Regions from separate parts of the Homo sapiens genome. Here regions 1, 2, 3, 4, 5 and 7 are each linked to region 6. The links are contacts of gene promoters, found by promoter capture Hi-C in blood cells and fetal thymus (Javierre and others, 2016). All regions are on one chromosome and are shown on one strand. The core of a region is centred on a gene start or on the middle of the fragment in contact, and the rest is flanking DNA. Distances in the headings are between cores, read along the strand shown. Region 1 overlaps ADGB (androglobin). Region 2 overlaps ADGB (androglobin). Region 3 overlaps ADGB (androglobin). Region 4 holds the start of LOC105378040 (a long non-coding RNA gene). Region 5 overlaps ADGB (androglobin). Region 6 holds the start of GRM1 (glutamate metabotropic receptor 1). Region 7 overlaps ADGB (androglobin).

Evidence for each region. The method cuts DNA at HindIII sites, captures the fragments that hold promoters and counts their contacts. A CHiCAGO score of 5 or more calls a contact.
Region 1: a fragment that was not itself captured here is called in contact with the fragment with the promoter of GRM1 in region 6 in 7 of 17 cell types (M2 macrophages, M0 macrophages, endothelial precursors and 4 more); the score reaches 18.1 in M2 macrophages.
Region 2: a contact is called between a fragment that was not itself captured here and the fragment with the promoter of GRM1 in region 6, in 1 of 17 cell types (M2 macrophages). The highest score is 5.7, in M2 macrophages.
Region 3: a contact is called between a fragment that was not itself captured here and the fragment with the promoter of GRM1 in region 6, in 2 of 17 cell types (M2 macrophages and M0 macrophages). The highest score is 7.4, in M2 macrophages.
Region 4: a fragment that was not itself captured here is called in contact with the fragment with the promoter of GRM1 in region 6 in 3 of 17 cell types (M0 macrophages, endothelial precursors and M1 macrophages); the score reaches 7.3 in M0 macrophages.
Region 5: a contact is called between a fragment that was not itself captured here and the fragment with the promoter of GRM1 in region 6, in 1 of 17 cell types (endothelial precursors). The highest score is 8.6, in endothelial precursors.
Region 7: a contact is called between a fragment that was not itself captured here and the fragment with the promoter of GRM1 in region 6, in 5 of 17 cell types (M0 macrophages, M2 macrophages, endothelial precursors and 2 more). The highest score is 9.2, in M0 macrophages.

What each region holds. Positions count from the first base shown.
Region 1 is chr6:146,702,391-146,705,618 of GRCh38, reverse strand. All of the region lies in intron 13 of ADGB (androglobin), which reads right to left. Among named protein-coding and RNA genes, the nearest start is that of ADGB, 110 kb to the right of the region's middle. The HindIII fragment of the contact is 2,666 bases long and covers 250-2,915 here.
Region 2 is chr6:146,797,598-146,800,728 of GRCh38, reverse strand. The region is part of intron 33 of ADGB (androglobin); the gene reads right to left. Among named protein-coding and RNA genes, the nearest start is that of ADGB, 200 kb to the right of the region's middle. The HindIII fragment of the contact is 4,906 bases long and covers 1-3,131 here.
Region 3 is chr6:146,722,061-146,725,458 of GRCh38, reverse strand. It overlaps ADGB (androglobin), which reads right to left. Exons shown (of 36, transcript NM_024694.4): 18 at 1,132-1,273. Among named protein-coding and RNA genes, the nearest start is that of ADGB, 120 kb to the right of the region's middle. The HindIII fragment of the contact is 9,478 bases long and covers 1-3,398 here.
Region 4 is chr6:146,769,305-146,772,527 of GRCh38, reverse strand. The region is part of intron 29 of ADGB (androglobin); the gene reads right to left. LOC105378040 (a long non-coding RNA gene) reads left to right here and starts at 1,375. Exons shown (of 4, transcript XR_943093.2): 1 at 1,375-1,433. The HindIII fragment of the contact is 2,662 bases long and covers 258-2,919 here.
Region 5 is chr6:146,680,079-146,683,073 of GRCh38, reverse strand. All of the region lies in intron 9 of ADGB (androglobin), which reads right to left. Among named protein-coding and RNA genes, the nearest start is that of ADGB, 83 kb to the right of the region's middle. The HindIII fragment of the contact is 1,797 bases long and covers 718-2,514 here.
Region 6 is chr6:146,027,294-146,030,654 of GRCh38, reverse strand. GRM1 (glutamate metabotropic receptor 1) reads right to left here and starts at 1,593. Exons shown (of 8, transcript NM_001278064.2): 1 at 438-1,593. The coding sequence starts at 1,137. RefSeq lists enhancers at 774-1,274, 1,275-1,775. The HindIII fragment of the contact is 3,742 bases long and covers 1-3,361 here.
Region 7 is chr6:146,742,974-146,746,069 of GRCh38, reverse strand. ADGB (androglobin) reads right to left here. Exons shown (of 36, transcript NM_024694.4): 26 at 1-148. The region is part of intron 1 of LOC105378040 (a long non-coding RNA gene); the gene reads left to right. Among named protein-coding and RNA genes, the nearest start is that of ADGB, 150 kb to the right of the region's middle. The HindIII fragment of the contact is 2,674 bases long and covers 498-3,096 here.

The DNA of each region.
Region 1 (3,228 bases), core at 333-2,832, 670 kb before region 6:
CCAGAGATGCAAGGATGGTTTGACATATGCAAATCTACAAGTATGATATACCACATTAAAAGAATAAAAGATAAAAACCATGCAATCATGTGAATAGATGGAAAAACAGCATTTCACAAAATTCAACATCCTTTTATGATTAAAAAACCTCTCAACTTACAACTAATATAAAGAATGTACTTCAACACAACAAAGGCCATATATGACAAACTCATAGCTAACATACTCAACAGTGAAAAGTTGAAAGCTTTACTTCTAAGATCAGGAGTAAGACAAGGAAAATAACCACTTCTATTCAACATATCACCTAAAGTCCTAGCTAGAGCAATTAGGCAAAATAAAGAAAAGGCACTCAAATTGGAAAGAAAGAAGCTAAATTTTTCCTCTTTTCAGATAATACAATCATATATAGAACCCCTTAAAACCCCATTAAAAATCCTGTTAGATCTAATATATAAACTCAATAAAGTTTCAGGATACAAAATCAACATACAAAAAACAAAAATAGAAATCAGTAAAATAATTCCATTTACAATAGCTACCAAAACATATTTAGGAATAAATTGAACTAAGGAGGTACCTATATTCTGAATACTATAAAATAAAACATTGATGAAATAAAATAAGACTCAAATAAATGGAAAGATGTCCCATGTTCATGAACTGAAAGAATTCATATTGTTAAAATGGCTGTACTAGCCAAAGCAATGTACAGATTCAATGTAATCTATCAACATTCTGATGAGATTTTTCACATACTAGCCAAAGCAATGTACAGATTCAATGTAATCTACCAACATTCTGATGAGATTTTAGACAGATATATTAAAAACATCCTAAAATCCATGTGAAACCACAAAAGACCCTAAATAGCTAAAGCAAAAGAACAAAGCAGGAGGCATCACACTACCTGACTTCAAAATACACTACAAAGCTATAGTAACCCAAACAGCATATATCACCATAAAAATAGACCAATGGAACAGAGTAGAGAGTCAAAAATAAATTCAAACTATTATGGTCGAAAAAGATTGACAAGAACACACAATGGAAGAAAGGAGAGTCTCTTCAGTAAATGATTTTGGGATATCCATTTACAAAAGAGGAATGTCACCTCATACCATATACAAAAATTAACTCAAAATGCATTAAGAACTTAACTTTAAGACCTGAATGTATGCTGAATGTATGAAACTATTAGAAGAAAACATAAGGGATAAGCTCCAAGAACTTGGCCTGGGCAACAAGTTTTAAGAAATAATCCCTAAAGCACAGGCAACAATTGCAAACAGACAGAAGGAATTACATCAAACTAAATTTTTTTTTTTTTGCACAGAAAAGGAAGCAATTATAAGGAGACAATCTATAGAATGGGAGAAAATATTTGTAAATCATACATCTGATAAGAGGTTAATATTCAAAACATATAAGGAACTCAAACAACTCATCATCAAGGAAACAACCCAATTGAAAAATGAGCGAAGAATCTGAATAGGCATTTCTCAGGAGAAGACATACAAATGGCCAACGTATGTGTTTTAAAAAATGCTCAACATCACTAATCATCAGAGGAACATAAATTAAGACCACAGTGAGATATCACTTCACACCTGTTAAAATGGCTGTTATCGAGAATACAAAAATAAGTGTTAGTAAGAATGTGGAAATAAGGGAAACCTTGTATATTGCTGGTGAGAAGGTAGAATGGTGCAGCCACTGTAGAAAACAGTATGGAGGTTGAAAAAAAAAAACTAAAAATAGGGCAATCATGTGATCCAGCAATCCTCCTTCTGAGTGTGTATCCAAAGGAAATGAAATCAGTGTGTCAAAGAAGAAAGAGATACCTGCCTTCCCATCTTCATTATAGCATTATTCACAAAGCCAAAATATGAAATCAAACTAATTGTCCATCCACAGATGAATGGATAAGGAAAATATGGTATATATACAAAATAGAATACTATTCAGCCTTTAAAAAGAAGGAAACTTTATCATTTGCAATAACTAGGATAAACCTGGAGGACCTTATGTGAAGTTAAATAAGCCACACACAGAAAAATAGATACTAAGTAGAATGGTAGTTACCAGGGGCTAGATGTGGGTGATTGGGAAAATACTGGTCAAAGGATACAAAGTTTCAGTTAGTAGAGATAAATTCAAGAGATCTGATTTGCAACACGGGGTCTATAGTTAATGTATTCTTGAAAATTGATAAGACAGAAGATTTTAGTGTTCTCACAACAAAAAATGAAAGGAACGTGAAGTAATACATATATTAATCAGCTCAATTTAGTTATTCAGCTATATATATATTTCAAAACATCATGTTTTACACTATAAATGCATATATTTTTTATCGATTAAAAATAAATTTTAAAAAGACAAGATTGAAAAGATAAACTTAGAACATATGAAATACATATCTAATAAAGAATAAGTCTCCATATTTCACAAAGAACATCTATGAATTGGTAAAATAGGAACATACAACCCAAATGGAAATTAGGCAAAAGACATAAGCAGGCATTGCACAGCAGCACAAACAGAAATGGCAGTAAATGTATACAAAGCTGTTCAGTCACAATAACAACCAGTTCAATGGAAAAGCAAAATGAACTACTTTTTCTTACCAATCTGATTGGCAAAATTTTTAAAAAATCCCTACACACTCCATGTGGCTATAAGGAAATATTCATACAACCTGGGTGTAATCTTATCGTGTATATTTAGCAATAATTATTTTAAAATTCCAATAGAATTGTATTTGTTGGCCAAACAATCCAACTACATGTACAAATTCATTCATAGCAGTAGTATTTATAATAGCAAAAGATTAAAATCAACCCAAGATTTCATCTATAGAGATTGATAGAAATAAACTACAGTTCATTTACATAATAAAAAATTATGAAGCTTTAAGAATGAAGATACTCTTTAGGTGTAGATTGGAATTATCTCCAGCATATATTAAGTATTTTTAAGATTATTTAATTTTGAGTAGAAAAAAAGGAAGTTGTGAAATATTGTGTGTGTGTTTCTTTGCATTTACATTAAAAAATCCTGAAAGTTTCCTACGGAGGGCAGAATGGTGAAAATGGGATAGAGAGGTACATAAATGGAGGCAAGATTTCTTTACATTTGTTTTACATTGGAAAGCTCAGCATCCTACTGTTCAAGGTCATTGCCAAGGTCTGATTTTTCAAATTCCAAAAATAGCAACCTCAGGCA
Region 2 (3,131 bases), core at 162-2,661, 770 kb before region 6:
ACAGTATTTTACCTTCAATAAACTTGTAGTCCAGTGGAGTAGGCAATATATAAAAGATAAACACTGAAAATCAAATTAGCAGCAGCTTTTTAATCCATAGAACAGTATCGAGCCCACAAGAACAGATTTAAAAGACTTGAGTCTAGGATATTAACTTTTCAGCATTTCCAGACCACTGCTTTTTTTTTAAAAAAAAGCTACTGAAGTATAATTTACACATATAAAATTCAACCATTTTAAGGTTCTAATTCAATACTTCTTAGTAAATTTACCAAGTTGTGTGACCATCAACAAAATCCAGTTTTAAAACATTTTCATCATCCAAATAAGATCTCTCTTGTGTCCTATAATAGTCACTTTGTGTTCTCACCACAAACTCCGGGCAATCATTAATCTACTTATGTCTCTACAGATTTGTCTTTCCTGGACATTTTATGTAAGTAGGAGTGGATTACTGGGTCATATGGTAAAATTCTTCAACTTTCAAAGAAAGTGTCAAACCACGGTGTTTTGATCATTATTTTTAACTTTATGACCAATTTTGAAATTACATAGTAAAAATCTCCCTGCTTGGTTCATTTAAAAAAAAAGAAAAAAGTTTATTTTTAAGAGCAGTTTTAGGGCCGGGCGCGGTGGCTCACGCCTGTAATCCCAACACTTTGGGAGGCCAAGGCGGGTGGATCACGAGGTCAGGAGTTCAAGACCAGCCCGACCAAGATGGTGAAACCCCATCTCTACAAAAAATACAAAAATTAGCTGGGCACAGTGGCAGCTGCCTGTAATCCCAGCTACTCGGGAGGCTGAGGCAGGAGAATCGCTTGAACCCGGGCGGCAGAAGTTGCAGTGAGCCAAGATCGCACCATTGCACTCCAGCCTGGGCGACAGAGTGAGACTCTGTCTCAGAAAACAACAACAACAACAACAACAAAAGAAACAGTTTTACGTTTCACAGTAAAATTGAGAGGAAGTACATACAGAGATATCCCATATCCCCCTTCCTCCTACACACACATTGTAGCCTCCCCCATTATTAACATCCCCTACCAGAGTGGTACATATATTCAAAATCACACTATCTGCAAACAAATACAGTCTCCCTCCCTCCCTCCCTTTCTTCCCTTCCTCCCTCTCTCCCTCTCTCCCTCCCTGCCTGCCTGCATTCCTTCCTTCCTTCCTTTTTTTTTTTTTTTTTTCTCCCCCCAGAGTCTTGCTCTGTTGCTAGACTGGAGTGCAGTGGCGCGATCTTGGCTCACTGCAACTTCCGCCTCCCTGGTTCAAGCGATTCTCCTGCTTCAGCCTCCCAAGTAGCTGGGATTACAGGCACGTGCCACCACGCCAAGCTAATTTTTGTATTTTTAGTAGAGACAGTTTCATCACGTTGGTCAGGAGTTTTCTTTCTTTCTTCCCAGTTAGTGTATCTTTTTAGTTCATTTCCTTGTCTGACTGTATTTTCTAGGAGTCTTGTACATGTTGAAAAAGAGTGGTAAGAGAGGACATCTTTGGCTTGCTCCTGATTTTAGTGGGAAAGCTGCTAATTCCTCGCCATTAATAAAATGTAGGCCATAGGTTTTTTTGTAGAGTCTTTATCAGGATGAGTAAGTTCCCCTCCCACTTGGATCTTCTTTTTCAAAATTATTTTGGCTTTTCTGTTTTTTTTTTTTTTTTTTTTTGCATTTCCATATAAGTTTTGGGATTAGCATGTCAAATTCTGTAAAATGTCTACTGTGATTTTGATAGAGATTATACTGAATTTATAGATCAATTTGAGGGGTATTACTATCTGAACAATAGGTCTTATAGTCCAAAACATAAATGATCTCTATATTTAGATAATTTAAAATTTCCTTTGGTGATGTTTTGTAGTTTTCAATACATAAATTCTACACTTGGTTAAATTTATTTCCGTGTATTTATTATTGATGCTGTTGTGAATAAAACTGTCTTAATTTCAATTTTGATTGTTCATCAATATGTAGAAATAAAAATGATTTGTTTACTAATCTTACATCATGTGACCCTGCCAAACTCACTTATTCACAGTTTTTTTTTTTTCTGTTTTTTAGAAGTTTAGCATATAGGAGAGTGTTGTCGGAGAATACAGTTTTACTTCTTCGTTTCTAAGATTGATGTGTTTTATTTCTCTTTCTTGATTGAACTAGCAAGAACCTCCATTAAAATGTGGAATGTAAGTGGTTACAGTAGACATCCTGCCTTGTTCTTGACCTTAGGCTAAAATTATTCAGTTGTTCACCTTTAAGTATGATGTTTACCGTAGGTTTTTCATAACTAGCCTTTATCGGTCTGAGGAAATCCGCTTGTATTACCAGTTTGTTGTGAGTTTCTTTCTTTGTTCTTTCTCCCACTGTTCGTGCATTATTTTTATATATGTTTGTACATTATAAGCCCAACAATATAGTTTTATAATAATTGTTAAATAAGTAAACAAATGGAAAAATCTATTTACGTTGTCTTCTAAAATTTACCTACATAATTACCTTTCTTTGTGAATGTGAATTCCCTTTGGATGTCACCTTCTTTCAGCCTGAAGGACTTCCTTTTGTATTTGTTTTAAGGCAGATCATCTGGAAACAAATTATCAAGTAAGCACAAACAAGTGCTTGTTTATTGTGAATGTGTTTAAATTTGCCTTAATTTCTATGAATTTTCTTTATTTCCTTTGTTTTCTGTCTCATTAAAATTTTTTTATTCCTTCTTTCTTTAGGCCTACTTTATTACTTTCTATCCAACTTTTTTTTTTTCACTGCTGAATCTCCAACTATTTACTTATTTGTTTATTTATTTATTTATGTATTATCAATAGGTTTTTTGGGAACAGGATATAATGCTTGTTTACATGGATAAATTCTTTAGTGGTGATTTCTGAGATTTTGGTGCACCCATTACTTCAGCTGTGTACATTGTACCCGATGTGTAGTCTTTTAGCCCTCACCTTCCTCTTATCCTTCCCCTAGTCCCCAAGTCCACTGTATCATTCTTATGCCTTTGTGTTCTCATAGCTTAGCTCCCACTTATAAGTGAGAACATACAATGTTTCATTTTTCATTCCTGGGTTAGTTCACTTTGAATGTGGTCTCCAACTGCATCCAGGTTGCTGTGAATGCCATTATTTC
Region 3 (3,398 bases), core at 204-2,703, 690 kb before region 6:
CTTGCATATGCAGTTCACAATAGGATTCCCGCTCCTATGAGACTCTAATGCTGCTGCTGATCTGACAGGAGGCAGAGCTCAGGCACCGCTAACCTCCTGCTGCATGGCCCAGTTCCTAACAGGCCTCGGACCAGGACCAGTCCATGGCTCTGGAGTTGGGGACTGCAGATTTAGAGCATGTTCAAAACATACATGTTGATGGTTTAGGTTCTGTGGGGGGAAAAGCGGATATAAGAAGAATCTTTATTAAATTCCTTGTCCTTGGTTGTCTCAAATGAATAAGCACTCAGACAGAGTAATTTGATTTGCTGGAGTATAAAGGGGAGATGTGAGAAATGTCAGAGTTTCAAAATGTAGTATTTTGTAGAAGTACTAGATGCTTGACACAATTATTTTAGCATTTGTTGCTGAGGCTTTGCTTTTTGCATAAGAGACATAGCTTTTCATTGATCACATAGAATTAGCATGATTGATCTTGGGAAAAAAGTAAAAGCTAGTGAAAATGTTTATTTCAAAGCCTAGTGAAAATATTTCTTCTGAAATTTGAGGTAATATTTTGAATTTTATTCATCAAAATAAAATCTTTTCCATTATATGTATTTTCTTTAAAATTGAAACTAATGTGTTTAACCAGCTTTATCTGAATTAAAAATAATATCTAACAAAAATAAGCCACAAGAAAATCTAGATTGGTAGGGGAAAATGCATATTTCTCAATTTGCATTTAAATAAAATCAAGGTTTTTGCTAAGTATTATATTGGTGAGAAAACTTATAAGAAATATTTATGAGAAAATTCATACTAAAGTATTATAAATGTTATGTGTATAATATTTATAAATTAATTTTAGAAAATGCTGGGTTAAACAAGCTCAAGCAGTATTGTTGACTAAATATATTCCCAGAATCTTTGACAATTATGAATCTCCCAAAGGGATATTCATTGTACAGTATTTCTCAATGTAGTTTTTTGGAAATATTTTTCTCAAGAATAATAATCATGGACCTATGCCTTGAGAAATTGCTTTGAGAAACAATGTCTTAGAGTCCATATTGTTTACTTCTTTAGTAACCAACAATTTGCAAGCCTTCAAACAATTTTTATTATGGGAAAAATGAAGCCACTTCATACCCAACAGGCAGACGAACCACTGTAGCCTTGGTAGCATATGTGTGAATCTTCAGAACAAGACTGCCTGGTTTCAGGGATTTCCAAGAAAACGTTTCAGCTGTGAGAAGTCCAGGCTCTATGGGAGGACTGTCTTTTGTTAAGGCTTTAAGATAAGTAAAAAGGTATTAAAGTTTGATCATGAAAGTGTAGTTGGCATTCACTAGTACTGTCTTTTTTTATTAAGTAACAACATAAATAACAATAATCAAGCATTAGAAATATTACTAAAATGTTCATAAAACATTAGAAATTACTCCAGGTAAATTACTAGAAATAACACTTAGGTCTTCCTCCCTGTTCAATATTCTTCCTTGTAACAATCCTCTCAAGTGAAGAAACCAGGAATAGGAAAATTAGAATCAGGAGGACATTTTTCATTGTAGTATAGCATCGCTTTTATTATCTCTATGGTAATAACTACAATATCCTTCTAGATACAATTTTAAAGGAAGAAAACATATTACATCTTGAAAAATAAGAGATTTCTCTAAAATAGTGTAAAAAATAAATCCAAATATCCCACTGTTTATCAAAAAAATTATTTATTTTTTAAAGACGGGTTCTCACTCTGTTACCCAAGCTGAAGTGCAGTGGTGCGATCTCGGTTTACTGCAACCTCCACCTCCTGGGTTCAAGCAATTCTCCTGCCTCAGTCTCTGGAGTACCGGGGATTACAGGCATCTGCCACCACCCCTGGCTAATTTTTGTATTTTTAGTAGAGACAGGGTTTCACCATGTTGGCCCAGGCTGGTCTCGAACTCCTGACCTCAGGTGATCTGCCCGCCTCAACCTCCCAAAGTGCTGGGATTACAGGAGTGAGCCACCATGCCCAACCTGTTTATCAAAATTTTTATCTTTGATTCAGTCTTTGACATTATGTAGAAATAGCAAGCAATTAACAAAGTTTAAATTTAATATCAAGTTTTTTATTAAAAATGGATAAATAATATAGGCTAATTGTTCATCAATGACTGAGGGCAAAATAATTTCCCCCCTATTTCCAGAAAACACTGGAGTTGAGGACATAAGGTCACAACATTACCTGAAATGCCTTCATGCCTATAGAATTTAAATGTTCTGGGACATGGTGTGGCTTCAGGGCTTTTGGTTTGGTAGATGCACTAAATTTAGATCACTAAATTTTGGAAAGTTTATTATACAACAAGTATTTTCTAGCCACCTGCTCTATGTTAGACACCATTCAAAACATTGACGATATTTCAGTTTAAAAAAAATCCCTGCCCTGCATGTTGACAAAACATTCAGTATTAAGCATTTGGGAAATACTTATTGTACATTTACAGTGCCATGTACTGTTAATTTGAGCTGAAGAAAAATTCTTTAACAAAACAGGCCAAAGAATAAAAGAATGAAGTTTTGTGAGTGTGTGCCTGTGTGTGCGTGTGTATGCAAGGGTTTGGCCTTGTAGAGGAGCAGAGATTGTCTATCCATTAGAACAGAAGGAAGGTGGCCTAGATTTTGAGAAAGTTCATTGTGGGAAAGGGAGGTACAAATTCTGAAAGCAGAAATCCTTTCTGATTTCTTCTGTCTATTCAGTGAGATCAGCAGCAAGGTCATCATCTGAACATGAGTGAGAGTAAGAGTAGGTGTTGAAGATTTGAAGAGAGAGAGAATGTTTGAGGGTTTGCAATAGGTCATCTACAGGAATAAATAAGAGTGGGAGAATAAAAGAATGACAGAAATACTGGCAGTGCCTAAGGCCTTGTTGAGATTTGTGCTCCTCAAATGTAAGCAGGGCTAGCCAGTGTGTTTGTTTTTCTCCCCTCCAATCACATTCAGCTGCTCTCTTGAAACTGTGGGTTGGATATGCATCAAGTTTAACCAATAGTGAAGTTTTTCCAGGAAAGTAAGATGAGGGGGTAAAAAGAGCAAATGTGTGGAGGCTATCTCTGTGATGGACAGAGAAAAAGTGGCAGGGTAGATAGTAATGAAAGTCCCAGTGGCTTCCAAAATTGTAGGAGTGGGAGTTCTGTAGAGTGAACTAGAGAGTCAAGCAGTGAGCGGGGAGTGGGGTGCTTGAAATTGAGATGACTGAGATGATGCCCAAATTGGTAAACTTAAAGTCTACAAGGTAACCATGAAAGTAGGGGACCAAGGTGGGATAGAGGAAAAGATTGTTGGAATGTCAAATCAAAGAAAAATAGTTCGTTTTTCAATAGATTTTGAAATAATTAAGAATGATGACATTTATAGGTCAACAACTACAA
Region 4 (3,223 bases), core at 339-2,838, 740 kb before region 6:
TACTGTATATTATTATTTTCCCCATTCAAATGCCCTTGATGGAATTTAATTTCCATTAGAATTCCCAGCTGTGCCAGCAACCAGCTGTGTGATATATATATATAATAAATATAATATATATATTTAACTAAATTTAATAGTATTGAGATATTTTTCTTTTGCACCATATTAGACATTAGTTTACTTTAGAGAATTGGGAGAAAGCAATTCTAGTCAATAGCATTGTACTATGTGATGCTATTTTTCCCTGAAAAGCTTAAAATTTTTTCACAAATACCTCTTCATGATTGCACATTTTTATGAATCTCATTTAAACATTATTCAGAAACAGGTTTTCCTTGTGAGCAAGATCTTCAATTGAATTCAGCAAGGTTGCTCTGTAGTTTTCCTTTTATGATTTATGATGAGATTATTTGTTTTCTGTCATATGGATCTGGGTTTATAATTTATAATTGCTATAAACAACAGTAGCATGACTATTTTGAGCTTATTGAGACAGGTATAACACGCTATTATAATACAGAAATCAGAATTATAAAGAGTTACAGGCAACTCATGAAAAAGCCCACACTGTCCAAAACAAAAAGCAAAACAAAACAAATCAGAACTGGCTGTCATTCTCTGATCCATTGAAATTCTTAATCCTCAGAAATGTAATGTAAAATCTACCAGTCCTATAACTTGAAGAACAAAGTGGAAATGAGAATAGCTTTGGTGAACACACAAGCTCATACAAAACTGTGCTGTTTCTTTATTCTTTGATTTCTATAATTGTGAATATTTTATTTGCACTTAAATCTTTAGCATAAAATATTTAATTCCACTGGTATTAGGCATATACTCTATCTACTTCTTTGCAGTAGGGGAACACAAAATTACCACATGATTTGTACCATCCATTATTTCAAACAGGTTTCTGTTAATTGATAGAGAAAAAGAAGACAGAGAATGGTGGGGGCCAGGGGCCAGGGGCGGGGGCACGGTATGAGCTAAGAGATTTTGCTTTGAACCACAGGGGAAGTAGGAATAGGGTAATGGTTACTTTAAGCGAGAACAAAAGTGGCAACCTGACGGGAAAAACATATAGAGAAAGAGAATATGGTAACATGCAAAGAGAAATAAACATAAACAACTGATTTTTTTTTTTCATTTATTTTCCATTAGAACTTGGTGGGTGTGGGTGGTCAACTGCAAAATAATCAAAGGGCTCAAATTCACAGCAGTAGATAATCCATAACACAGGGTTAGGCAACATTAGGTGGGTCCAGGAAACCTTCACAGCTGAAGACCCAGAGAAGGGAACTGGGCCGGAAACACAGCATCCGGGAACAAGCTGCAAGGAAGTGATTGCCAAAGCCAACCGCCTGTGCAACCACAACAAGGGAATCAACAGGCGTATTCGGGCGTATTCGGCTTGAGACGTGGCCTGCAAGGTATTTGCGGCTTTCATATGACATTTACTCACAGAATAATTGTGTTCTCTTCTAGTAGGCAAGAATATGAGATCGAAGCCTTGTCTGCTGTTTCAGACATTCTCAGTGTGCTGGGCTGTTAGGGGTGTTGGCTTTAGGAGGGGAGGTTGAAGTAGAATGGGCAGATGTTTTGGCAAAATTCATATTCCATGACTATCCAGGGAATGTGCGAAAGTGTTTTTATGTATAACACTATGGAGCAGTAGCACAGCCACTCGTTCAAAAAACAAGGTTTGAACACCCCATTGTCTGCTCTGGAGTTATCCACATACCACACACGAACAGCAAAGAGGCGGCGACTCTGTGGCCCCAGTGCTACCACTTTCTCTTCCTGTGTCTACGTGGAATATTGATAAAACATCACAAAACTTTCTCGTTGAGCCTGAACACAGCCTCAGAATCTTGCCCACACAGCAGGCCAGGATGCCATTAGGATTTACACATACCTGAGGTCACTGGTGTGGCATGTTCATGCATTCATTCATTAAACACTTATTGACATCTCCCACTAGTGCTAGAGATGCAATGATGAGACCGAGGAAGAACACATCCCTGCCCAATGAGAGAGGAACCTCAGAAGAGGCCGCACAGTGCGATGCCGTTGGAATTTCGGCAGTGTGATGCGTTGCTATGGAAGCACACTCAATACATTTGAGTGGAAATGGGAACTCTTGGTGTCATACATTTTTATAGCTTTTCTTTGAATTTTAAGACACATACTAGAATCTATACCTTCTAATAAAGTAAGCCTGGCAATAACAGTTTTCTCTTAACTTCTGTACACACAAACCTTTTTAAGCTCTTTCTTGATCAGGTCCAGGCAGATAATAGAAGCAAGCAAACGCCTGAACAGAGTTGTTGGCAATTAATAAATAAGGGTAATAATAATAGGAATAGCTTACATGTATCCTTCCATTTACTCATTCAGCTAATATTGTGGGGTGCTTACTGTTCATATGGGATCTAACTAGGGATAATGCAAGGGACGAAACAGGTGAAAATGGACAAAACTCCTCATTCTTCAGGGGCTTGCATTCTAATAGAGGAATATAAATAATAGATAAAATTTACTGTTTCTTAGAGGACGAAAAGGACTAAGAGTTTACGTCTTATCATAAGCGTGTTGTATGTATACTAAAAATTCTGAATGATGACAAAGCCCACTTCGGTGGTGGCTACCATCAAGTGTTTGAACTCAGGTTAATGGGACCCAGGAAGAAATGGAGGCTTTTACATTTTATGTTATACCCTTTTGTATTGCATGGGTTTATTTTATTTTAAAAATAACATGCATATATTATTTTATGATTAGGCAATCTAGCTTAAATTTGAAAGAGAACATAAATAGAAAATACACATTCTTTCAGATTCAATTATTAGATTGCCCAATGGGATATAAAGCTGTTGGAGATTTCCCTTTGATTCTCTTTTTTGAAAGCAACAAGCTTCCTGGCCAGGAATACTAGAGTAGTTTATATTTTGAAAAAATAAACCAGAGTACTCTTTCACTAGAAAATTATTCTTCTGGAATTGAAGAATTTGTGAAATATTTTAAAAGCTTGTATTTAATGCTATATATTCTCAAAAAATATGGGCAAATATAATTTTATAAATAGAAAAATGTCATACATTTTTGAAATGTTCAAAAGTATAATCAATTAGTAATTTTTATTAACTAGACAAAATGTGCTTACATTACATCTAACTAATCATATTTTTTCCTTATAAAACAGGCAGTAAAAATATTGAAA
Region 5 (2,995 bases), core at 367-2,866, 650 kb before region 6:
CTTTTATAACAAACCCACACCTGGGATACCTAACCACTCCCATGATAATGGCATTAATCCATTCCCTCTGTCCTCATGGCCTAATTACCTCTCATTAGGCCCCACCTCCCAATATGGTTGCATTGGGGATCAAAATTCTAGCACATGGACTCCAGAAGACACATTCAACCAAGACTACAAAGGATTTGGAAAAAAAAGAGAGAAGGTTCAAAATTTTCATAAGATTTTCAAAAAAGTTTATTAGCCAAGAAAATATAAGAATTATTTGTAAAGGGTCTAAAGGGCCTTAGATAATTCCTATTTGTTCTATTATCTCTCTGTAAATATGTTGTGTGATTCTGCAATATTGGAACACCCATAATGCATTTTGATTTTATTATATATCAATAAAACTGCTTTTAGAATATCTTAAAGGCAAATGTTTAAATCTAGGGGCTCTATAATTTCTTTCAGTGAACTATGAATGGTACAGACCATGAAATTTCCTTATCTTTCCAGTTGTTGGAGTAACTTTGTATTGAATTAGCACAGCTGCATATAATAATGCTTAATAATTGAGAAAGAAATTTAAGAAAAAATATACTCTTGAATGATGAAATGAAATTTAACATCCTAGTCTCTAAAACTGCCTTAAAATATTTTGTACAGTAATTATGAGTCTTATATGGCCTACAACTGCCATACTAATTATATGTATTTTATTGCTCAAAAGAAGCTTTTGCTACATTTGTATGATTTAAATGTTTTATTTTACATGTGATACAGCTTTTTTTGCTTTCTATAAGCATATTTCAGAAGACTGCTATAAAATACGTAAGATTACTTAAATACCACTTTTATCATTGATTTCATTTTATGTTAGACATTTACTGTCTGAACCTATAAAAATTTCAGCCTGAAATTTTGAGTCCCAGTGAGATGAACCCCAAATTACTATAAATCCATAAGAAGTATTTGTTAAAGATTATATATGATTTTTTTCAGATGTGATATTTAGTTAATTTAGAATAGCTAACTTTCAGTGAATGCCTACTCTGTGCTAAGGCCTAGGTATTTCATATGAGTCAGTTCACATAAACCCTATGAAATAAATTCTATTTTTAACAGTATTTTTCAGGCAAGTAAACTGAGTTACGGATAGGTTAAGTAACATGTCCACTACACAATTAAGAAGTGTGAAGTGTAAAGTAGTCCCTGGTCTTTCTGGCAATTTTTTATTGTCTATGATTCTATGTGGCAATATCTAAAGAGGATAATGACTCGAATGTGTTCCGGCCCACTTCCTACCAGACAATGTTTGCAGGTCCAATATTTGATGCAAAGCTGAAAAGTAAAAGACTTTTTATACCAAGTCCATAATTTCTTAATACAAGTTTTAAAATAATATATATTAGTGGGCTTCTAATCTATTTCTTTCATCAGTTCCACATGTCCATATTCTTTCTTGAGTGTAATTCCCAAGGCTAATTTACTTCTTTGCTTCTTTGCTTCATAGAGGCCACTTTGAAGATAGCTGCAACAAAGAGGTTGCAGTCTTAATCTTTGACACAACCAGGTGTGTTGTTTAAGTTTTACTGGACTGTATTAGGCCATACTTGCATGGCTATAAAGAGATACCTGAGACTGGATAATTTATAAAGAAAAGAGGTTTAATTGGCTCATGGTTCTGCAGGGTGTACAGGAAGCCTAGATCTGGTATCTGTTTCTGGGGAGGCCTCAGGGGGCTTTTACTCATGGCAGAAGGCAAAAGAGGGAGCAGATGTCTCACATGGTGAGAATGGGAGCAAGCAAGAGAGTAGGGAGAGATGTTACACAGTTTTAAACGACCAGATCTTGCAAGAACTTACTGTCATGAAGACAGCACCAAGCCATGAGGGATCTGCCTTCAGGTCCACTCCCACCAGGCTCCACCTCCAGCACTGGGGATTACAATTCAACATGAAGTTTGGGCGAGGACAAATATCCAAAATATATCCTGGACTTTTGTTGTTAAATACTTAGGTATGGCCATGAAATTGAATTGTCTTCAATAGAATGAGACCAGAAGTGATAAACAGTACAGCTTGTTTTTACTTCAAACACCTTGCACCTGCAATCCTCCAAGCTCTTTTACTTCCCACTGGTATAGAACTTTAGAATTCACATGCTAGAGTATAGGAGGCATAAAAAGGGAGGAGCATGGCTCTCTTCAACACCAGCCTTATCTCCAATTAATTGTGGTAAAGAAATAGCCTTCTTTTTCAATTTTGTATGTTCTGTGATCTCAGAAATTTCTCTATTTTTCCCATTTATTTTGGAAAAACAGACAATTCTTCCCTGAACTCATTTCTTATTTGAAATATCTTGCTAACAGTAGATATTACAAACTTAACACTGCCTAGAATAGCAGATTTTCAACCACTTATTTTAGAGACTCAGGTTCACTGAGTACATGGCTAACTTCTAAATTGTCGCAGGTTCCAGTTTTACCAAATATTTTGCTGTATGAGGGAGATCTCCAGGTTTCCTCAAGCTTGAGATACCATTTATTCACTGCCTTCTACTCTACTGTTAAGCAGACACCACATATTTTCACCTTGTTATTAGTACTCAACTTCTGGCAGGAGTTAATTTATCATGAGGTAATTGTAGCTGCTATAAGGAACACACTAAAAAATGACTTAAACATGATATAGTTTCTTTTTGTTCATATAAAGTACAAAATGAACCTTCTTGACCAGCAGGCAGATCTCCAGGTAGTGATTCACATACTCCTGCTCTGTCCATCCTTGTGGCTTTGCCATCTTTAACACTGTGCTCTCAACAGCATTGAGCTAGCAAAAAGGGAATTGTAATTGAGAGCACGGTATAGGTCAGTCTACAGCTGGTATGTATCGCTTTGCTTCACATCCTGTGGGCTAGAAATTATACAGAAGGCCACATCTCACTTAAAAGAGGCTGGGAAAATATAGCAAAACTGTGTTCCTAGAAAGAGGAGGAAATTGTGAAAAGCTAG
Region 6 (3,361 bases), core at 344-2,843:
TTGAAGTCCTATTTGTGGAATAGTAACTTCTTTTTGCCAATCACTCACACTGAATTAACTCATTACACCTGGAAAGTCATAGCCAGTCACTGAAGGGCAATATAACACCTTGGACAAATAAGCCTTCCAAACGCAAACTCAAAATATGAGGGCAAACAAGTATTCAAGTCAAATCTACTGCTGGACACTTTGCATGGAAAGTTTGATACCCTTTCAGCTCCTATTATCCTCAGATATTCTATGGGGTACAATTTTCCTACACTATAATTGTAAGGAAATGAGGATAAAAGGCAATGCCTGGGTGGGCAGTACTGAGAAGGGTAAACTCCGTTCCCCACAGTGCTAGAAATAAACAGGAACAATACTATGATCCCAGGAGCACATCATGCATTGCCCTGACTTTCTCAGTACCCTTCTTTCCCAAATATAATGCCTACCTTCCGTGTGGACTGCAGAGACATAGGTCCAATTGTAACGTTTGACTATGTCAAGCATGGCCCTTGCCTGCAAAGTGTCAGAAGGGACAACCCTCAGGAAGTATTTGTACAAAGTTTTGTCACTCAGGTCGATGCTTGTGGCTGAATAAGCGATCTGGGGGATGTCGAAGAGCTGGAGCAGGTTCTGCACTTGAATGGCTACAGAGCTGGAGCCGGGACCGATCACTCCCGCAATGGGCTTCTTAGTCCTGCCTGGGGGGAGGGACTGGCCGTCAGGCAGACACCGGTTGATCCCATCCTTCTCATCTCGAATGGAAATCAGAGAGTCCCTAATGAACTCAATGCTCTGTTCCAGAGCCACGGAAGAGTGCCAGCAGGAGTCCCGGATCTCACTGCCCAGGGTGATGTTGGGCAGGAGGACCGGGTCCGCGTTGATCTTATCCAACGTGTGGAACATGGCCTCCACCCTCTGGATGCCATACTGCTCCCTGATCTCCCCACACTTCCTCTCGGGCACTTTCTCGGCCGGAGGCTGGTGATGGACTGAGAAGAGGGCTCCAATGATGACATCTCCGTCCATTCTGGCCACCGAGCGCTGAGACGACGCTCCTGCCAGCAACACTTTCCTGCCGGGGCTTCTGGGGAGAAGGGACACCTCCAAAAAGATCGCTGGGAAAAAAAACAAAAGGAGCCCGACCATGGTGGTGAGGACGAGGTCCACAGCCTGCCAGCCGCGTTCCCACGCTGGTCCCGCTGCAGGCTCCCGGCGCGCACCCCCAAGACGCCCAGCGCCGCCTCTCCCGGAGTGGTGCCCCTCGCCAACAATGGTCGTCCAAGGCCTTTGCCTCCTCCACCACCGCCTCCTTCCCCTTCGTCTCCTCCTCTGGGTCCTCCACGACCGCCTCTACAAGCTGGAGGCGTTTGTAAGGGAATTCGAGTCCCCGTTCTTCACCGGTAGTGCATCAAGGTAAATTGATCAAGAGTACAGTGGAAGTCGTGTTGGCAGCGGTGAGCTAGATGCTGCTGACAAAAGACAGAGAAAAATCACAACCTTGTCATCAGAGGACCTGTGTTAAAACTCTGGGGTCTATAATGTTAACAGTTGCCTTGTCCGTTTCATTTCGGCACATCCTGATATCGGCTGCAGGAACAGCTTGGAGCGCAGCTGTGGTCACTGAGGAAGGCGGGGTGTCCTGCCCCCTCTGTCCTCACGGGTCCAGGCGGCGCAGAGCCCCGCCAACTCGCCCGCTCCTCCAACCTTAAGTCGTTTCCTGGTCCCCTAAAACCTATCATGCTTTCTAACTTGGAGGGCGGTGGGGAAGGTGAGCAGAGAGGAGGGGAGGAGCTAGGTCCTTCAACCCAAGAGAACTTTCCGGATTGGAAAAGATCAACTTTTTTTCAGAAGAAAATTTGGAAACTCATTGTAAAGGTGGAAGCGCGACTTTAAAATAAACGTAAACAAAGGATGCACCTTTTACTTTAATTTTGAGGGGTTGAAGAAGCCCTGACATAAAATCAGCTGTAAATATAAATTTGCCAGCTTGAAGAAAATCCACATTAGTTACTAAGGCAACGCCTGGTAAAGTCTCCGTATGGAGGAGTTTGGTATGTTTCCCCCGTAAGAAGTCAGGCTTGCTGTGTATGTTCAAGAAGAAGGGGTGCAGATAAGGTAACTTGTTTCCCGCGGTGGGTGGACGGGTTAGGGGGGGTCCTGCGCTTGCTTTGGGGTTTGCATAGTTGCTAGAAAGGGAACGGAGGGGAGCTTCCGGGTTGCTCTCGCCGCGGCAGCCTGAGCCCTGCCGCCTTCAGGACCCTGGACAGTGCTCGGTCCAGCCAGACATTCCCTGGCAGGGCCTGCAAGGGACGCTTTGACCAGTGAGTTGCAATTCCCTGACCCGCTTTGCTCTTTCAACCTCCCTCCTCTGAGTTCTTTACCCATACACACACACACACACACACACACACACACACACACACACACACACTCCCTTCCACTCGAGTCCCCACCGCCCCTCCGCCCTCATTCTCATCACCTTGCACCGCTTGTGCAGGTATATATCCAAACCCACCCGCTTGGGGACAGAGGCGCCAAATCTCAGCCGCCTGCGGGGCTGAAGTTGGCTCCCTCTCCCGTTCCTCCCCTGCTCCTTTTCTCAAGGTGAGAGTCGACGAAAAGGGGGCTATGGGAGCGGGCGAGGAGAGCACAGGAGGTGAGGCAGAAAAAGGAGAAAGAAAACCCAGGCACCCATTGGTCCCGACTCTTCCTGAGGATACAGGACGAAAAGAAATACATAAGCGAGAATGCGCCTGGGACCCGGAGGAAAATCTGATAGACTGGGACTTTGTCTGCCGTTGTGGGTGGGTTTCACCGGAGGAAGTGTCCGCTCACCTGAGTCTGTTTGGAGGACATGGACTTGAGACATACCTGAGTACCTGAGTCGGGGTAGACAGCGCTATGGTCCCGGGGCCAGAGGACCGTGGCCACGCTCGGCTTGCAGACGCCTCAGCTCTAATCCAGACGGTGCAAGGATGCGATCTGGGCTGTACACTAGTGCCCTCTTTCTTCAGCACTATTTTACCGCAAGGGAAAAAGAGGGGGAGGGAAGAAAAAAAAAAACAGGTCACCCAAGGCTTGTCTATTATCTCATGTATAAAAATCAGTCGTTTGATAGAGGGAGGAGGGGAGACAAACTAGGAGGAAGTGGGGAATATTAATTCCTTTACTATATGAGGGGTCGTATAGAAGCTGCCAGATACGTGAATAGTCAGACAATCTGGCCAAAGAAGTGGAGAACTGCCTAGGCTGCTTTGGGGTAGATATCTTTGTATATATATCTCAGGGACTCAAATATATTTTCTCTTTCTGCGAGTAAAGTCCCTACAGAGGGAAACAGAGTGTAAACACATGTACAGACATCTAAAGA
Region 7 (3,096 bases), core at 585-3,084, 720 kb before region 6:
GGATTTCCTTTATGGCAAAGGAATTGCATGGAGAGTCTCGAGAGAGGCATGGCAGTGGAGCAGAAGAACCGATGAGACGCAGTTTCCATCGTGAGGCTGCTACATATGTGTCGCCTGTAAATGCTTCCGCCACAAAAGTGTATCCCTTCTATAAGAAAGACAAATTACACAGAAATGAATTATGTCGTTATTATTCTATCGAATGTACAATATCTAATAGTGCTAAATGTCTTATTATTATGATATACCTACAGGTCCCAAGATCTCTTAATAAACATAGAATCACTAGGATTATGTTTGGAATTTCTCTTAGAAAGCACTATCCTACAAAGTTTTCAGGAAAATAATAAACTCTGATATTTTCCTTTGTGTGGTTCCTTAACTATAAAATAAAGTGCTTAACTACAATAGATGATTACTATGTCCTCTTCTAATTCTTCTAATGCCTCCCATGGCAGATTTTTATCATTGCACCATCCCAGAGTAGCCCAAAAGCTTCTTACTTGATTTTCCTGTAACCCAGATCTATCTTTCTGGAATACTGAAGTAAGAAAAGCAGAAGAGTTCAAAGAAATGTATTCTGTTGACATGACAGGTAAAACTGTAAAATTAATAGCTGATTTGATTCCACAGAACCCAGATGTGTGATTGAGGATGAGCTCTTTAGATTGCAGAAAAGGAGCAGCTCAAGAGCCTGGGAATGGCTTACTTTATGATGGGGAAGAGCTTGGTTTAACATAATTGGATAGCTGACTAAAAAGTCAGTGAATCAAAAGCATGATATCATAATAGATGCAAATGTTCAAAGTAATTCTGAGATTATAATTCCAGATGCCCCTAATAAAGAATAAAAAGATAGATTTGTCTTCCAGCTGTACTCTGCCCACAAATAGCTCTCTGGTATGTTTAGATTTCCAGAAGTAAAAATTAGATATATATAAGCCAGAATGAATTTTTTAAAAGTTTCATACACATCTAGAAATATTAGCTGGAATTCCAGTCCCCATAATGAGATGAGAATTGCAACACCAGTAAGGACTTTATGACATCATGTTTGGGGCAAGTAAAAAAAATGTATAATAAAGCATTTTTACTGGCAAAGGGTAATGCACATATGTATTGATATTTTTATTATTATTTGAGTTCATTGTACTACTGAATTAAAGAGGCAAAGCAAAATTATTTTGTTTTTGCTCAGACTCAGAATGATTATAAAGGAAAAAGTTATTAAATGGTGGGATTAGATATTGGTAAGTGAAAATCCAAAGCTAAATCAGTGATAGGATTATAGGACAGAACTTGGCTATTCTAAATGGATTCAGTAGTAAAACATTTATATAATCGAGTACTGAGTATCGAGGAATCCCACAGACTAGTATTCTGAATTACAGTGTATGGTCTTGAGTATTTATGAAAAAAAATAGAGCAAACAATTCTGATTTTTCAAACTTAAGAAGAATATATACTCTGCAAACCACAGATTAGTAAGTTTAATAATAGTGCTTATCAAAGTTCTGCCGCAGCTCATAAAAAGCATGTCTCATGTGAACCTCAAAGATAAAACCTATTCTTAAAGCCAGCATGAGTTTATTGGAAACAAAACTTATTTACTTTTTTCATAAGATTAGAAGACACAACATCAGGTAAAAGTTGCATACATGGTGTTTATGAATTTCGGGCAGGCATATGTCAAGGCCTCTGGTGAATTTCGTATGGGTCAGGATGCCTCTGGATGAGCCTGCTGGGCAGAATTAGCCACAAAATTCCCACCTAAGATTGCTAAGTTATACAACTGCTCAATACAGTTTTAGACATTATCTAGTCGGCCAAAGATGTTCTCTCTTGAGGTGTCTCTTGAGTCCACCATATCAACATGCCTTGTAGGTACCCAAAGACTGATGCAATCACAGGGTACAAAACAATGGAGCAATGAACCTCTTTATGTTTTGTGGGTCAGAATTACTTTCAGAGGCAGCATTCAGTTCTGGGAACCACATTTTAGCAGGGACAAAGGTTGTTTGGATAAATGTTCAAAGATCAAGAATTATGAAGAGAGGAAAACTGCAGCACAAAAGGGTCCAATTAAGCTCTTTTTCTATTCACACAGCTTGACATACTCCTCCGCATTTCTCCACTTTTAACTTTTTTCTTTTTGGAGATGGAGTTTCGCTCTTGTCACCCAGGCTGGAAAGCAGTGGCGTGATCACGGCTCACTGCAACCTCTGTCTTCTGGGTTCAAGTGATTCTCCTGCCTCAGCCTCCCTAGTAGCTGGGACTACAGGCGCACGCCACCACGCCTGGCTAATTTTTGTATTATTAGTAGAGACAGGCTTTTGCCGTGTTGGCCAGGCTGGTCTCGATCTCCTGACCTCAGATGACCCACCCACCTTGGCCTACCAAAGTGCTGGGATTATGGGCATGAGCCACTGCGCCCGGCCTTAACTTTTTTTCTAAACAGAGCTGGCTAGAGTGAGAGGGCAGAAGAGATAAAATATGAGACAGGAAGTATGTTTGCTGCAATCTCAATTTACAACTTAAAAATAATAGTTAAGTGGAGCTGGAATGTTCTTCTGAACGTTGACTCAAAATGTATCACTTAGAACTATCCGAAAAATTCAAGTTTAATCTAGAGAGGGATGTCTACAATGGAGTTTCTAAAACAAAAACCAAACCCATCCCAACCCAAGGAGGTATGCTAGATGTAAATAATAATCAGATTCGTACTTGGTTCAACCAAATATTCTTTAAAGGTCTCTTCCAAAATGAAGTATTCAAGACTAGCATTAGTATATTTATCTAGTAATACAAAATTCATTGCTAGAATTTGATGACATCTATAACCTTGATAGTCTCCCTTTAAATTAAATCATCTTCTTCCTCTTAATCTTTGTGACTTTTGAATTCTAATCACAAATTAAATAAACTGTTTCTATTCAAAAGGAAGTCTAACTCAAACTTTAAAAACAAACATTCAAAAAATCATCTACTGGTGTGTGGACAAATTTGTTCGTGAAGAACTAGCTCTGTAGTTTGGTTTAACCCAAGGCATTCTGCTGCAGAAAGGTCAGGTTTAGAGGAGGGGTTTCCAATATTTGG